2 separate regions of the Homo sapiens genome follow, and region 1 is linked to region 2. The links are contacts of gene promoters, found by promoter capture Hi-C in blood cells and fetal thymus (Javierre and others, 2016). All regions are on one chromosome and are shown on one strand. The core of a region is centred on a gene start or on the middle of the fragment in contact, and the rest is flanking DNA. Distances in the headings are between cores, read along the strand shown. Region 1 has its middle 7.3 kb from the start of H3C12. Region 2 holds the start of BTN2A2 (butyrophilin subfamily 2 member A2).

Region 1 (2,781 bases), core at 272-2,771, 1.5 Mb before region 2:
GAGGTCGGGAGTTCAAGACAAGCCTGACCAACATGGAGAAACCCCGTCCCTACTAAAAATACAAAAAATTAGCTGGGCGTGGTGGCGCATGCCTGTAATCTCAGCTACTCATGAGGCTGAGGAAGGAAAATCGCTTGAACCCGGGAGGCAGAGGTTGTGGTGAGCCGAGATTGCGCCATTGCACTCCAGCCTGGGTGACAAGAGTGAAACTCCGACTCAAAAAAAAAAAAAAAAAAAAAAGTAACCATACCTGAACAGACCCTTTCACAAGATAATGTTGTCTCCCAGGAGCATTCAAATTCCAAAGAGAACTATTTACAAGTTAATCTCTTTTCCCCAGTCCACTCATTCTACCTAGTAATCATTTATTGCTCCTCAACAGAATCCCTCTTCTCACAACCCGCCGGTAACTTGTTTAGCTATGACCCAAGCCCTCATTCTTTCTGTAACCTTTTTCTAGCTTAAGAATGTTTGTGGCTGGGCGCGGTGGCTCACGCCTGTAATCCCAGCACTTTGGGAGGCCGAGGCGGGTGGATCACGAGGTCAGGAGATCGAGACCATCCTGGCTAATACGGTGAAACCTCGTCTCTACTAAAAATACAAAAAATTAGCCTGGCGTGGTGGCAGGCGCCTATAGTCCCAGCTACTCGGGAGGCTGAGGCAGGAGAATGGCGTCAACCCGGGAGGTGGAGTTTGCAGTGAGCCGAGATCGCGCCACTGCACTCCAGCCTGGGTGACAGAGCGAGACTGTGTCTCAAAAAAAAAAAAAAAAAAAAAAAAAAAGAATGTTTGTAGGCTGGGTGCGGTGGCTCACGCCTGTAATCCCAGCACTTTGGGAGACCGAGGCGGGTGGATCACGAGGTCAGGAGATCGAGACCATCCTGGTTAACACGGTGAAACCCTGTCTCTACTAAAAATTACAAAAAATTAGCTGGGCGTGGTGGCGGGTGCCTGTAGTCCCAGCTATTCCGGAGGCTGAGGCAGGAGAATGGCGTGAACCTGGGAGGTGGAGCTTGCAGTGAGCCAAGATCGCGCCACTGCACTCCAGCCTGGGCAACAAAGCGAGACTCCATCTAAAAAAAAAAAAACAAGAAGAATGTTTGTAAACCTTTGTACACTGTTGGGAAGTGGGTAAATACTCTGTAGTTGTTTCCCATGTGCATGTTAACACATTTGTAAGGCTTTTCTCTTATAAATCTGCCTTTTGTGGTAAAACGTTGTAAATGACTACAGGACACCAGGGAAGACCCCTTATCTCTTCACTATTGATTCTTATTATAGATGAACTTCCCTGTTTTCTCTCTTACACAAAGACTTCGTCACTATCATATTGTATAAGATGGAATTTTAAATATACTCTTTTAAATGTGAAAGAAAATAAAAACAAGCTGTAACTAATCAAATTGTACCTCGTAAGCCACCTTTGTACAGAAACTTAAAATTCTATTAAATGTCTTTGTTTTCTATCTATATAAGCAAGATCTTTAGTTTTATCTTTGGAGCTCTGATTGATTCCATTGATCCTGGAGTCTGTTTTCCAAATGGCTATTTCCAGCTTTCCTTTGAATAAACTTAAAAAAAAAATTCTTCTTAATAGAGACAGGGGTCTTGCTATGTTGCCCAGGCTGGTAGGCTGGTCTGAACTCCTGGGCTCAAGCGATCCTCCTGTTAAAGAAAGGCTTCCCAATACAGACCCCAAGAGAGGGTTCTTGGATCTCTTGCAAGAAAAAATTCAGGACAAGTCCACAGTGCAAAGTGAAAGCAAGTTTATTAAGAAAGTAAAGGAATAAAAGAATGGCTACTCCATAGAGCAGCCCTGAGGGCTGCTGCTTGCCCATTTTTATGGTTATTTCTTGATGATATGCTAAACAAGAGGTGGATTATTCATGCCTCCCCTCTTTAGACCATATAGGGTAACTTTCTGACGTTACCATGGCATTTGTAAATTGTCATGACCCTAGTGGGAGTGCAGCAGTGAGGACGACCAGAGGTCACTCTCATCACCATTTTGGTTTTGGCTGGCTCCTTTACTGCAATCTGCTTTATTAGCAAGGTCTTTATGGCCTGTATTTTGTGCTGACTTCCTATCTCATGCTGTGACTTAAAATGCTTTAACCGTCTAGGAATGCAGCCCAGGAGGTTTCAGCCTTATTTTACCAGCTCCTATTTAAGATGGTGTTGTTCTGGTTCACACGCCTCTGACATTCCCGCCTTTGCCTTCCAATGTGATGGGATTACAGGTGTGAGCCACCACGCCCAGCCAAATAAATTCTTTACAACTAAATTCTGACCCTTTCAATGATAGGTTGAAAGACTTTCAGGAGAAACTAAGAGGTTTCCTGATAAAGAGTTTTGCAAGTCAGTTTTAAAACCATAAGCACTCGGCCAGACGCGGTGGCTCGCGCCTGTAATTCTAGCACTTTGGGTGGGTTGACTGAGCTCAGGAGTTCGAGACCAGCCTGGGCAAAACGGTGAAACCCCGTCTCTACTAAAAATACAAAAAATTAGCAGAGTGTGGCGGCCTGCGACTGTAGTCCCAGCTACTCGGGAGGCTGAGGCAGAATTGCTTGAACCTGGGAGGCGGAGGTTGCAGTGAGCAGACATCGCGCCACTGCACTCTAGCCTGCGTAACAGAGCGAGACTCCGTCTCCAAAAAACCAAAGCCATAAGCACTCAAAGAATATGGAACATATGGCATAGTAAACGTCAGGCAAGAGGGCGGAGGGCGGTCTCGGTGGCTCACGCCTGAGATCCCCGCACGTTGGGAGGCTGAGGCAGGTG
Region 2 (2,871 bases), core at 122-2,621:
AGTATGTTTTTACCTTTTAAAATAAAAAGTAGAATAGGCACAGGGTCTTGCGCCTGTAATTGCAGATATTTGGGAGGCCAAAGTGGGAGGATCCTTAACAGCTAGGAGTTTGAGACCAGCCTGGGCAAAATAGTGAGACCCTGTCTCTACAAAAAATAAAACTTAGTCGAGTGTGGTGGCCCTTGCTTGTACTCTCAGCTACTTGGGAGGCTGAGATGGGAGGATCCCTTGAGCCCAGGAGTTTCAGGTTACAGTGAGTTATGATCTCATTCTCCATCTGCTTCATTCCGGCCTGGCAACAGAGCAATATACTCTCTCTTAAATAAATAAACAAATAAATAAAAAGTTAAAAAAATCTTTTTGAAGATTTGCACTTGTATATGCACTTGACCTTTGTGCTTCACTGTGTTTCTTTTGGACAGTGCTGGTATAAATTCAGTGAACATGTTCAGAATGAAAGGATAAGTCAACAACCCCACAGTTCTTCCTTCTTTCCCTTTGCAGACTACAGGGTTGATGTTCCTTTCTGAGAGGTGACAGCAGCAAGTGACACACATCCCTACCTGAGACCAGTGCACACAGGCTGAGAAGGAGGAGGAGCAGGAGGAGGAGGAGGGAGGCTGGCAGGGAGAAGTGCAGAGCAGCAGCTGGTTCCATGAGCACCCAGGGCAGGCAGAGACCAGAGGCCTAGGGTTACAGAGGAGGAGAATCAGCCTAGGAGTCTTGGCACCTCAGTGCTGGTCGGGCCCAACCTCTCCTGTCACTCAAGTAGGTCTCATCGGTGCCCCAACTTCTGGGAGTCGCTTGCATCTCAAGGCTCAGGTATCTCCGAAAGAGGGATTCCGTAAACATTCCATAAGTAAGCCATCAATGCAGAGATCAAGGGGGCCGTTTTCCTCCTTCCTCTTCCCACTTCTCGGGCCACAGTCCGGTTTCTTCAGTTGTCCCTGGATTCTTTCACACCCTCGTCCCTCCACTTCCCCCTCCCCGAGACCCAGGTCGGGACACTCGAGGTAAAGCCAGGCGAGGCTGCGCCTCCCCACCAGTAGGCTTCCTGTCTCCCAGGTCCCCCTCTCCTCTCCAGAGCAGATCCCGCTCCCCGCACCTACCGCCCCCAGCTACCGCCCCCACCCCGGAGCTGTAGCGCCTCCTCTCCCTTTCCTACCTTCTAGAACTAACCTCTGTTTTCTTTTCCCCTCTGATCCTCACATGACGATTTTCCGATACAACTCACCCATGGGCACAGTCACCACCAGACAACAAAGCATCCCAAAGAGAAGAGAAAAGCTGTGTTCACCTCCTATTAATCGCGATGTTTGGAGTTGCGGACTCGGTATCTGGGACCTGTTCTCTGGGTGTCCAAAAAGTCCCAAGATTTCCACTGAGCAGTTTAGAGCCCAGGATTGGCCGAGTGAGGCTGAACCAACCAATGGTGTCTCGAGCCTTATTTCTCAGCTGTTACTAGGTAGAATACACACACAAAAACCCCCCAAAAATCTCAAGCAGCAAATAACCTTTTGGGATTATTAGGTATTTCTATTTCCTTTTTCTGTCTTTGGAAGCAAGACTTTTTTCCTTTATTTTCCTTTCTTCCTTCCTTTCTTCCTTCCTTCCTTGCTTCCTTCTTTCCTTTCTCATTCTCTTTTTCTTTCTTTCTTTCTTTCATATGTCTCTCTCTCACTTTATTCTTTCTTTCTTTCTCGCTTTCTTTCTTTTTTCTTCCTTCCTTCCTTCCTCTCTCTTCCTTTCTCTCTTTCTCTTCCTTCTCTTCTCCTTCCTTTCTTTCTTTCTCTTTCTTTCTTTCTTTCTTTCTTTCTTTCTTTCTTTCTTTCTTTCTTTCTTTCTTTCTTTCTTTCCTTCTCTCTCTCTCTCTTTCTTTCTTTCCTTCCGTTCTTTTACAAAGCCTTGAGATCCCCAAGGTGTCAGTGGCTTTGCTGGTGTAGACGAGGAGAGGGCTCTCTATGTAGAGTGATTTTGCTGGGGAGGAAACATGAGGAGGAAAACATAAGCCGCCGTCTTTCCAAAGCCAGAGGACTCTTGTTCATGTTGCTGGCTTTGAAGGTTGGGCCTGGTGCGCGGGAGGCCTTGGGGGAAGCAGGCATGGCTGGAGTGGGAGGGGTAGCAAAGGAAAGGTGACAGCAGTTGCAGTGGCTGTTATGAAGGTCTTGTTGTTCACTCCAAAGCTATTGGATAAGACGTGCTGAGAATACTGAGTGAGGATTAAAAACCCTTTCCCACGGGGAGGTGGTATTCTGGTGGAGGCAGAAGATGGAAGTGAGCAAAGACTTTCAGTTGACCTTGACCTTCTGCCAGTAGGTGGTGGGGTTAAGTCCAAGGACCACACACACACACCAGCACACATAACCTCCTCCCCATGAACATAATCCCTCCCCCACAGAATCCAATCTTGTCATTGTATAGATATCTTCCAGAATAATCTTCCCAAGGCCCAGTTGTCAATAATCCCCTCAAATGTCTAAATACTTAGTCTGGAACTGGTGCAGTGGCTCACACCTGTAATCCCAACACTTTGGGAGGAGGAGGCAGGCAGATCACTTGAAGTCAGGAGTTCAAGACCAGCATGGCCAACATGATGAAACCCCGTCTCTACCAAAAAAAAAAAAAAAAAAAAAATTAGCTGGGTGTGGTGGCACATGCCTGTAATCCCAGCTACTCAGGAGGCTGAGGCAGGAGAATGGCTTGAACCTGGGAGGTGGAGGTTAGGGTGAGCTGAGATCATGCCACTGCACTCCAGCCTGGGTGACAAAGTGAGACCCTGCCTCAAAATAAATAAATAAATAATAAAATATACACAAATAAATGCTTAGTCTAGAGGCCTCCAATTCCCTTCTGATTCAATTCAAAACTTTG

The links. The method cuts DNA at HindIII sites, captures the fragments that hold promoters and counts their contacts. A CHiCAGO score of 5 or more calls a contact.
Region 1: a contact is called between a fragment that was not itself captured here and the fragment with the promoter of BTN2A2 in region 2, in 1 of 17 cell types (neutrophils). The highest score is 5.1, in neutrophils.

The regions. Positions count from the first base shown.
Region 1 is chr6:27,882,184-27,884,964 of GRCh38, reverse strand. No RefSeq gene overlaps it. Among named protein-coding and RNA genes, the nearest start is that of H3C12, 7.3 kb to the left of the region's middle. The HindIII fragment of the contact is 3,554 bases long and covers 1-2,781 here.
Region 2 is chr6:26,381,608-26,384,478 of GRCh38, reverse strand. It overlaps BTN2A2 (butyrophilin subfamily 2 member A2), which reads right to left and starts at 1,371. Exons shown (of 8, transcript NM_006995.5): 1 at 1,298-1,371; 2 at 564-687. The coding sequence starts at 657. RefSeq lists a silencer at 1,433-1,522. The HindIII fragment of the contact is 7,335 bases long and covers 1-2,871 here.